Regions from separate parts of the Homo sapiens genome. Here regions 1, 2 and 4 are each linked to region 3. Evidence: promoter capture Hi-C in human tissues and cell types (Jung and others, 2019). All regions are on one chromosome and are shown on one strand. The core of a region is centred on a gene start or on the middle of the fragment in contact, and the rest is flanking DNA. Distances in the headings are between cores, read along the strand shown.

Region 1 (2,700 bases), core at 22-2,521, 160 kb before region 3:
AAGAACAAGAATTTAAAGCTGTTGACTTCTGATCCAATAGTCTTTATCCCAGACTCCTCCTCAATAGAGATCTCATGCTAGAAAATTTTTATTCATAGATATTTTACAGCCTTGTGAATGGAGAATCCATATTGCCCAGATGGAAATCAAATTTTAGTTTTTAAAAAAATATATTGGAAATTCTTCCTTCTACTAGATCTGCAAAACTAAATCATGGCTCCTGCAGAGATAAGCTATCAACTGACTAAGGACGTCAGGAAAATGTATCTCTAGAACATTTCATGAAAGGAAGATGTATTGGTTATCACAAACCACTTACATAGCCAAGTAGTAGAATAGTTCAGACTTCTAGTTTTCATTAATAAAGTTATACAACTTGTTCTCATTTCAAAGATGAAGTGCCTATTTGTAATAGTTAAACAAATAAAAATAACCATGGAATAGACTCCGAGGTTTCACAGTCTTAAAATTGACCTGAGTTATTAATATTTTAGGCAACAGGTGTTTCCTTCAGTGAAAACAGAGCATTAGCAGCATTGGAGGTTCCTGATCAAGGTAAAAATGAGGCAGGAATTGGCACAGACTTTGTCATAAATATTTGACAAATTAATTTTGCTACCACTGTTATGAAATAATTGATTTTTCAAGAAAATATTTACAGGTACTCACCACTAAAATTTTGCTATGCTAGTACTAATTCTAGGCATTTGGTTATTCTCTTTTGAAAACAAAAATGTAAATTCCCCATCCACTAATGCCATCAGAGAGATGCTGAAGCATGCTAAAGATAGACTTCAGTGTGCACCAACCAGTTAATCACAGTCAGAAGTCCCAACTCCCAAGTTATCAAACTGAACAATGATCTAAACCCAAAGGCTTGTTTCTGGTGCCATATACTTCTTCCCTAGAACCCTAAAGGAATTATTACCAGGGCAAGGAGATCATACTCAGCAGTATTCAGCATCCTTCAGTCTGGTGAAGAACTCACTCTCAATGAAATCCTTTCTCCCTTACCTGTCCTGCACACACACACACACACACACACACACACACACACACCCTCATTGTTAGCCTTCAGCAAATTGGGAAATATGACAGACAACTGGTATTGAGGAATATCCAATGGCAGAAAATTAATCTCTCAGTGGCAGAACTAACCAAAATTGTAGGCCATAAGCACTATAGCTAATGCCAGTATACATGAAAATTATCTTGTTTTCTGAGAATTCTGTTTTACAAACATGTGGAGCTCAAGATTTTCAATTACAGTCCCACCATTTACAATGTACCTTCATTCTAGTTACTTGCTTTCAAACCTCTTTTTTAATATTAAAATGAGGATAAAAATAGTTTCCATCTTTATAAGGTTATTATATGAGCAAAAATGACATTCTGTGTGTGTGTGTATGTGTGTGTGTGTGTGTGTGTGTGTGTGTGTGTATGGCTTAGCCCAGTGCTCAATAAGTATTACCTATTCACATTGTATCCCTTTAAAAAAAATCCAACAATATTAAGATTATTGTATTTGAGAACACATTTACAGATCAGGACCCCCTACGCACACACACACACACACACACACACACACACACACACACACAAAATAAAAGCTTTGTGGCTATTGCCAACATACTTCTTAAAATGCATGTTCTTTATATGGTAGATGTTATTAGGAGTGCATAGTATTAAATATGCATGACATTAAATGTGTAGTTACATACACAAATCTGGTTACAAAGTGAATTTCCAAAAACATAAAATATAACTAAGAGTAAGAGTGTAAGGGAACATGAGAATATGAGAAGCAAGGTTAATACATGAAAAAAAAGGACAGCAATAAGTAATAGGAATTTACCCAGGCATAAATAAAAATATGCTTGGGAAAAGATATGGCACCATACTATGGGATTTCATAAAACAACTTATATTATTTCTCTCACCACTGTTAACTAGCATATTTATTAGGTGATGCAAAAGTAATTGCTGTCTTTACCATTAAAAGTAATGGCCAGGCCGGGCACAGTGGCTCATGCCTGTAACCCCAGCACTTCTGGAGGCCAGTGGATCATGAGGTCAGGAGACTGAGACCACCCTGACTCACATGGTGAAACCCCGTCTCTACTAAAAATACAAAAATTAGCCGGGCGTGGTGGCGGGCGCCCGTAGTCCCAGCTACTCAGAGGCTGAGGCAGGAGAATTGCTTGAACCCGGGAGGCGGAGGCTGCAGTGAGCAGAGATCATGCCACTGCACTCTAGCCTGGTCAACAGAGCCAAACTCCGTCTTAAAAAAAAAAAAAAAGTAATGGTCAAAACGGCTATTACTTTTGTACCAACCTATATGAAATCTAATATGAAAATGATTGTATAGTACTGTAGTATTTTGGTCACTGTATAGTGATAAGTTTCTTTAATTTTTATGTTATATGCATTTAATCAAAAAATTGATGTAGGCTTCTGACAGTTTTGTAAATCCTGATTTTTTTCTAGGTGAGCCACATTATATCGTGATTTTCAGAAAGCATTTTCTAAAAGAGCAACTTCTGAGAAGTGAATAATTTAAATCTCTATTTAAATTATTAAATCTCTATTAAATCTTAAATCTCTATTTAAGAAGTGAATAATTTAAATCTCTATTTAAATTATTAAATCTCTATTAAATCTTAAATCTCTATTCTTAAATTCTGTCTCTCTTCTTCTCTT
Region 2 (2,700 bases), core at 118-2,617, 140 kb before region 3:
TTTTTAGGCATGCATATTTGAGTTAAAAGGAAATTACAAACACAAATGTCAAGATAATTCTGTGAGAGGTACAATAGAGGAGCAAAACCAGGCAAATATTAGTTACCGTTCATCTAGTTCTTTGTCCAGGTGGTAAGTTCACTAATGTTCATTCTATGGCTAGTTAATTACGTTTTTTAAAATATGGCCATTCATGGGTGAACAATGATAGCATATCATGAATCAAGATGTGGGATTAATCTAATTATCTGGGGAGTTGGGAAATCATATTGGGCATCAGATTTATTTCGTTCTAATTGACAAAACTACTGAACTCATCATTTTATTAGATTAATAATAATCTTACTTTTCTAAAAAGTGATGTTTTATAGGTCCATGTACCTTTTTACTACATTCGTTTTGATCTGAAAACAATTAGAAAAATATGATAGAACGGATAAACCACTACAGGTCTGAACATAACCAAATATATCTACTCTAATATTCACATGTATCTATTTTGTGATGTAGGCTCCACAAAATAGATATCTTCCCTAAGGAAAAAGCAACTGCACTGGAAAGAATAACCACAATTGAGTATTCTCCTGGATACCCTGAAGATATACAGGCACTCAGTCATGAGGAATTTACTGAGCAACCACCATATTTCAGGATACTGGATGCTGAGGACACAGAGATAAATAAAATATTGTTTCTGCCAACAAAGAGCCTACAGAGGCAGGAGGCTCCTCTTTGTATCACATTTATACCTTGGAAAATTGACTTAGCAACTTGAGAGACTGCAATTCAGAAATAACTGTCTCTTTAATCTAGTTCAAAGAAAATTCTTAAAAAATTTGTGAAATGTTTCTTTATATCAGTTTAATATAATGTATTATTTATACTCAGAAGATAAAATGTGTTTTTTTCATTTTCTACCACAGAATTCAATACTTTATAAACTATAATTATAGACAAATTTCTCAGAAAATGAAAAGTAATTGTAATAATAGCAGTTAGATAGTTACATTACTTTTTAAAGCCTTATTGTTCAACAGTTTATAAGGGGGCAATATGTAATTTTATTTTAAATGAAGTAATAAATTTGGTTCACTTTATAATGATTTTGCAATTGTCTAATATGAAACTAAAATAGTAAGTTCCGACTTCTTACTTCTTTTCAGAATTTTATAATAAAGATTTATAGACCTTCTTTTTGAGACATGTACACTATTCATTCACTGATTATTGATTATATTTTCTATAAGAAACAAAAAGTTATGCAAAATTTCCATTAAATAACAGTGGAAAGAACACATGCACTTTTAGAAAGCAAATTCAATTCACATTTTCTTATGGTAAGTAAGAAAACTGATGGATGCTGTGACAAAGTAGAAAGGTGATAGATTTAAAATGGTCTGATTCTTTTTACTTTCATTTCAGTAGTATTTAACATATATTTTACAATTACCATGTGATTATCATGTGACATGCTTTAGAAGGGGAAATCCATGTTTAATGGATGAAAAACTACTGTATGTATAACATTACTCTTAGAAGTGCCATGTGTAGTCTAAGTTATCTAAGTCATCAAAACTTTATAGAAGAAATGAAAATTTAAACAAGGAAAGAAAGGAGTGATAGGCTTGCTGTAAGGATAAGCTTTGTGATTTTAGTGATTTATCATAATGGAAAGGTAGTGAGCAAAGCAGAGGAAAATGAAAGCTTTAGCAGAAAGTACTTAGCATAAAACTTCAAAGAGGCTTTCCATAATGTCTGTGATCCTGGTTATAAAGAGAAAATAAAAGAAAATATCTGTCCACTTAAATGTAAAACAAATGGTCAATTATATGGCATAAGTATCTTTTGTCCAGGCAGGAGGATCAAACCTTAGAAAAGAAAGAAGGTAACTATTCCTTCTTTAGGACGCAAAACAAACTAGATTGCATGGTTACATTTTATAGTGTTAGCTACAGAATTTTAAGCTTCATTATTCTAGATTTTCTACACGATCAGTTTTACAAACTGAACAGGCCATATCTATACACATCCTTATTTACATTCATATATTTGTTTCTATTCCCAACCATAGTACATCACTAATTATTAAAACATTGGAAGGTAAGAAAGGATAGTTTTGCTTTTCTTCAACATATTAATGGGTTTATAGCCACAAAAAGTGACTTGTAATGATTTATGAGAAGTTGAATATTATTTTAAATGTGAAATGCTAATTTTATGCTTATTTTTTCAAAGCATGTTATCTCTAGTAAACTCTTTTGATCATCTCAACAATGCAGTGATGGTGCTTTGTTACAGCACAAAAAAAAACACAAAGACAAAATCATCAAATGACTAATAGGAATCCAAATGTGTCCAACCTCTTCAATCATATTTTCTGACACGAATTCTAAATCATTTCCTAGAAATTATCTATGCTGGTTTACACAGTCTTTGAATCATTAGGCCCAAAAGCCTATGATTACTATGGAAGCCTAGTTCTAGACACATCCTGTTGCCTTCAAAGAATACATTTTGAAAGTACCAAATAGCTCAAATAGCTTCTCTCATTACTATTAGGGAAAATTCAGATGACCATGAAGACTTTCATTGCTTATTTGGGGGCTATGTATTAGCAGGTCACATCTATATTCTATATATCTCCATGTACCATTTCAGGTCAACCTTTTAGTATTTGGGTTCTCCCTCATCCTAGTATCA
Region 3 (2,700 bases), core at 45-2,544:
ATATAGTTATTGGCAAACAAAGAAAAAGAACCTTTTTGTTAAAATATTTGGGATACTCGAGATAATATAAAATGAGTAATCTCTTATTTTTCTTATGCCAAATTTAAAATCTCTTTCTTTTCTCAAAAATAACGATCTAACGATAGCCAAAAACTCCCTTAAATATATTTCAATAAATCATTGTTTCTGCACTTAAGTCTTACTGTAGGACAATACAAATCAATGAGGAAAATACGCCAGATGGAAGTGTTAGGTTTTTTTCTTTGTTCGGGAACAAATACTCGATCCGCAATTTAAAAGTCCGAAGACTCCTCAGCAGAGGGTGAGCTGATTGACTCTTTGGCTTATCAAGGGCAAATCGCATTTCTGAAAAGAGCTTGAAGTGGTTTTGTTTGTGAGGAGAGTTTGCTTTGTCCCCCACACTGAAAAGTATACAGCAAAGCCCGAGCATAGAAAATATCCTGAGCTTAAATTTCTCATTTTATTGCCATCATAACTTTTCCTCTTGGAATAAAATCCTCTATTTTATATGAGTAGGAGGTAAAGGTAGGGAAAGGAAAGTCAAGTATCTCAATTGTTACGCTGATTGCATCCAAACAGACTTTAGAAGTCAGGGTTTGTAACGTGGCAGGAGAGCTGTTTGCGATGCCCTGGAAAGAAAAGAAAGCCGGTTCCAACAGCGACTCTGGGGAATGCACTCTCGGTCCCCCTGCCATGCTTACTTAAGCTAATTGAAGGTCTTGCCTTTCAGCAGCCGCTGCACTGGGATACCAGACAAACAGCTCCCCTTGATGCCAGGCAGGCAGGGCCCCTCTTCAGGACATCATTAAAAGCACATGCACTTGCTCCACATCCATTGGCAGATGGTGGCAAGATTCAAGACTCCTACCCTGAAGTCAAGGAGAAGCCATCGCGGTGGAAAACATCCTCGCTTTGAAAATCCAACACGAAATTAAAGAACTACACGAGATAAGGAGCCTGGAGAACATTAGTTGGCTGCAGGGGTGAAGACAGACACAAAAAGCACAGCAGGTAAGAGCTGGGGGTTGTTGCCAACAAGGAACTGTCCCGGGTGGCGCAGAGAAAAGGATCTCAGAACTGGAGCCCTGTCCCTTTGAGTCTTCCATGCGTGCTCAAGCTTGTCATCTTCCATAAGCTTCGAGAGAAGGGACGTTGTCAGAGCATTCCTTATCGGTGCGACTAATCCTGTTATCAGCTTGGTTATAAATATTTAATGTTCCCTGGCCTTTCGGTGATGGTGCCCCATCAGATTCAAGGCTGTTAAGAATCCCCACCAGCAACCTCGCCCCTCCCTGCGGAAAACCGATGAGAGGCAGGGCCAAGCCGAAGCGATGGCGGCCTATCCGGAGAGCTGCGTGGACACTACGGTGCTGGACTTCGTCGCAGACCTGTCCCTGGCCTCCCCGAGACGCCCTCTCCTCTGCGACTTCGCACCCGGGGTCTCCTTGGGGGACCCAGCCCTTGCGCTCCGAGAGGGAAGACCCAGGAGGATGGCGCGGTTTGAAGAGGGGGACCCAGAAGAAGAGGAGTGCGAAGTGGACCAGGGGGACGGAGAAGAGGAGGAGGAAGAGGAGCGCGGAAGAGGTGTCTCCCTATTAGGCCGCCCCAAGAGGAAAAGGGTGATCACCTACGCCCAGCGCCAGGCCGCCAACATCCGCGAAAGGAAGCGGATGTTCAACCTCAACGAGGCCTTTGACCAGCTGCGGAGGAAGGTGCCCACGTTTGCTTACGAGAAAAGGCTGTCCCGGATCGAGACCCTCCGCCTGGCCATCGTCTATATCTCCTTCATGACCGAGCTCTTGGAGAGCTGTGAGAAGAAGGAAAGCGGCTGAGCCTGGTGTGGAGAGTCTGCCCTTCCTCGTCTGGTAGTGCTGGGGTGTGTCAGGACCGGGCACTGGGTGAGGCTAAAGGGCCGGGAGGGAGGCCCCAAGACAGAACGTCTGGTCTTCTGGAGGTCGGGGTCGAGATTGTAAGATCCCCACATGCGCTGAGCAGAGTGGCTGCTGTAGAGTTCATATCTACGCGACCGCCCTAAGTGAAGTCGGGGTCAGGGGCGAGCGGGGAAGTCAGAGAGCGTGAGGCTGAGTCGGGGCCGTTCAGGCTGCTCCTAAGAGCTTCCGTGGGCTGGGTGGGTGGGAAGTGAACCCTCCTCGCAAATGGCAGACTTTGGAGCTTCTATAAAATCTAACCTCTCTTCTTTACATTTTTTTTTTCATAGAGATAATAAAGTAGAAATTCTTACGTTTTTAAAAAGCCTGAAGGGTCGGTGGTACGCCATCCCCAGCAGGCGCTCCAGCGGGCGCCTGCGTGGAGGGTCTGAAGCAGACGCCGCAAGGGTGCGGGGGTGCGAGCTTTTCTGCTAGCCAGAGGGTTCTGCCTGGTCCTCCGAGGCTTGTCCAGGAACTGAGGAAAGGAAAAATGGAAGGCAGAGCAGTCGAGAGGAACTGCTGACAAAGTGCGACCTCTGAGAAGGGACACCCTTCCTGTCTTCCATTCCCTCTCCCTCCCGTCCCTTCCTCTCTCCCGCGCGCAAGCCCTCTCTCTTCCTTTCTCCCTCCCCTTCGCCACCTAGTTGATCCCAGACGGACCACAGCTCCTTGTCCCAGGGCCACAGTGGTGTTCATTCAGTGCCTTAGCCAGAGTGCAAATCTACGCTTTGCATCTAAAGTGCAGCATCAG
Region 4 (2,700 bases), core at 142-2,641, 230 kb before region 3:
AGAATTTTTTGGAAAAAAAATGAAATGAACTTAAGATTGACTGGAATTTACAAGCTCATTTAAAGAAAAGTCTCAGCTATTTTTTTCTTAAAAATGTAATACCTCCCCAGATGGCAGTCTTTGTAGTTTGTGGCACTGATTCAAAAGGCATATTAACTGCCACTCTACTAGCTGCATCAAGCATTTACAGGCCTCCCTACAGAATGGGTTCAGCAGTAATTAAAATAACACCCTTCCTCAGGGTGAAGTTACACTTGAAGACTTCGGGGATGTTTTTCTTTCCTTCCTTTGGGTAAATTCCTTCTCCCCGAAATATAAGAAAAAGATGAGAGTGGAGAGAGCTTCAGAGAAAGATGGGGAGAGAGGGAGAGAAGTTTAAAATAGTACACCAAAGCGTGTGTCACATAAACTATTTTAAAATGTTAGTATTTCTTCCATTCCCTAGCAGACATTGATAGACAAACAGGTTAAAAAAAAAGCAAGGGGGAAAAATATCATTTACTCACTGTAGCAGCAGGAAATCAAGGAAAGAAAATAAACAGGGCTTGAATTGTGGGCCTTTAACCTGCTAGTCAGACAGTTTCATTCTGTGTGTATTTGTGTGCTGGTAAATGGCGAAGGGGAGGTACAGGGACGGGAGGGCTGTGGGATTCTCGGGACTCCCACAGCTACCAGTCCAGCTGTACAAACACGCACAAGCTTTGTTAAGGTACGGTGGGCAACAAGCTCAAACTGCTGAGCTATCTGACCTATAAATCCCTCGCAAAAGCTCCACTTGAGGGGAAGCCAGAAGTTATGTGTCAATTTTTTATCCAGCCAGAAGCTAGCTATTGGTCACTTCCGTCTCCCCTGTCTTTTTCTCTCAATGGATCCTCTGCTCTGGCGGGCTACATTTTAAGTATGTGTAGATGCATAAATGGCTATCTTAAATTCTACTTCTCTCTAGGCTAAACAAGAAGGGGGATGACTCAGAAGCACCCCCCCCCCCCACCACTTCATGACACAGCTTAGAGCATATGTTCCAAAATTATGAGCCATAACTTTAGGCAGAGCAATGAAACTTTCTGTTATTCTTTTTATAAATTTCTTTTTCAAACTCAGTAAGCGCATCACTTTAAAATACCATAAATTTACAAATACAATTTTTTTAAACAACGCAAGCACAAGAGACTTGAGATATTCCCTTATATATGACACAACTTACTTTGCTCTGTTTTTAACTTTGCTTTTTTCCTGATTCAAAACAGATAATCTTAGCTTGGCATATTGTATCTTGAATGCAAACAAAGAAGAGGTTCTGAATTGCTAACTCCAAAGAGAACCTTCCTAAGATTTTTTTTCTCTTTTCTAAACATTTCTGAACTCTAAGTGACCTCCTTTTATGAAGCTTCCAAATGGCATCCAAACACCTTAAACATCGTGCAGTTACTAAACTGTATAGACTATTAAAAAGCTGAAGAAATTACATAAAACTATAACACGTGAAGCAGGCTTAATTTAAGTAGAAATGGCTTTTGTAATCATTCAGAAAGCTAGAGATGTCTCTATGTTTAAAATATTTAGAAGCCACTTTGGGCTTTCCAAAATCCTGAGGAAAAAATATAATCCACACTAAAAACAAAAGGCATGTACCCACAGAGAGATGTTTACTCTATGCACCTTCTGTTCTGATAACTTAGAGTTATGTGATTTGGGTAGCATTCAAACAATATTGAATATTGAGAGACATTAAGCAAAAGTTGCATTATACTGAAATAATATTTCATGTTAAAGATTTATTTCAATAATTGTCACTGAATTTCTACAACACACTGAGCACCAGACTAGGACTAAAAAGGGTGGTAAGTGATGAATCATTGCTCTTGCTATCTTATCAGAATGTGCACTCAGGGAAAGAAGATAAAACAAGCACAGCCATAACTACACCACACAACTAAAAGAGAGAAGTACACCAGAAAAGTAAAAACGCAGAACTATGGACGTACAGAAGTGGCAGGAAGGACTTCCAGAAAGAGGAAGTCAATGAAAATTATGCCTTGGACCTTTTCATCTTCTCAAAATATATCATATATATCACATGAAGGATGGATAACTTCCATCACATTAAAATAATGATAAAGAAATAGAGACGACTTGTGGCAAAAGAGTTTGTAAACATTCTCTGACAAGGAATTTGAAGGAAAGAGATTTTGTTTCAGTGAACCAAATCCTGGGAGATGCAGCCTCTAGTGTAAAAATGAAGGTGCACATTCTAGAAAACAAGGAGAGGGTTCAAGTTTTATAGCAAGAAACTCCTGCCTGGGTTGCCAATCAGATCTGTTTATGCAAATGAAAGATTGAATCTTCCTTAGTTCTGATTGGTCAGTGCAGCTGAGCCTTGATTGGCTGGGGCAAGTAAGAGCTGACTGGTTTGTTTCAAAGCCCCAAACCAGAAGTCTCTGTCTTATGTTTCTTTCAAAGGGCAGTGGTGGGTGTGCAAGAGGGCATGTGATGGCATGAAGCTGGGTGAGGTTCTGGCTTTCTGATCCAGGCCTGACAACAGGAACTGGTTTTGCTTGATTGTAGAAAAGAAGGTTTCATGATACTTTCACAACATCTTTCTGAGAACATAGAGTTACTGATGGCTCCCTCACCCAGCTATGGCTGCATAGTTCTGTTTCAACTTTAAGCACTTCTGTTAGCCGTGGGGAAGTCCATTTT

The links. The method cuts DNA at HindIII sites, captures the fragments that hold promoters and counts their contacts. A contact is called where the count stands out against the background at its distance.
Region 1: a contact is called between a fragment that was not itself captured here and the fragment with the promoter of FERD3L in region 3, in 1 of the 25 tissues and cell types used here (neural progenitor cells).
Region 2: a contact is called between a fragment that was not itself captured here and the fragment with the promoter of FERD3L in region 3, in 3 of the 25 tissues and cell types used here (H1 embryonic stem cells, mesenchymal stem cells and mesendoderm cells).
Region 4: a fragment that was not itself captured here is called in contact with the fragment with the promoter of FERD3L in region 3 in 4 of the 25 tissues and cell types used here (H1 embryonic stem cells, IMR-90 fibroblasts, bladder and 1 more).

What each region holds. Positions count from the first base shown.
Region 1 is chr7:19,307,928-19,310,627 of GRCh38, reverse strand. All of the region lies in intron 2 of LOC107986773 (a long non-coding RNA gene), which reads right to left. Among named protein-coding and RNA genes, the nearest start is that of FERD3L, 160 kb to the right of the region's middle. The HindIII fragment of the contact is 3,682 bases long and covers 1-2,700 here.
Region 2 is chr7:19,288,194-19,290,893 of GRCh38, reverse strand. No RefSeq gene overlaps it. Among named protein-coding and RNA genes, the nearest start is that of FERD3L, 140 kb to the right of the region's middle. The HindIII fragment of the contact is 4,755 bases long and covers 1-2,700 here.
Region 3 is chr7:19,144,015-19,146,714 of GRCh38, reverse strand. FERD3L (Fer3 like bHLH transcription factor) reads left to right here and starts at 1,294. Exons shown (of 1, transcript NM_152898.2): 1 at 1,294-1,933. The coding sequence starts at 1,353. The coding sequence ends at 1,853. RefSeq lists enhancers at 248-896, 1,362-2,561. The HindIII fragment of the contact is 11,409 bases long and covers 1-2,700 here.
Region 4 is chr7:19,375,976-19,378,675 of GRCh38, reverse strand. No RefSeq gene overlaps it. Among named protein-coding and RNA genes, the nearest start is that of FERD3L, 230 kb to the right of the region's middle. The HindIII fragment of the contact is 3,576 bases long and covers 1-2,700 here.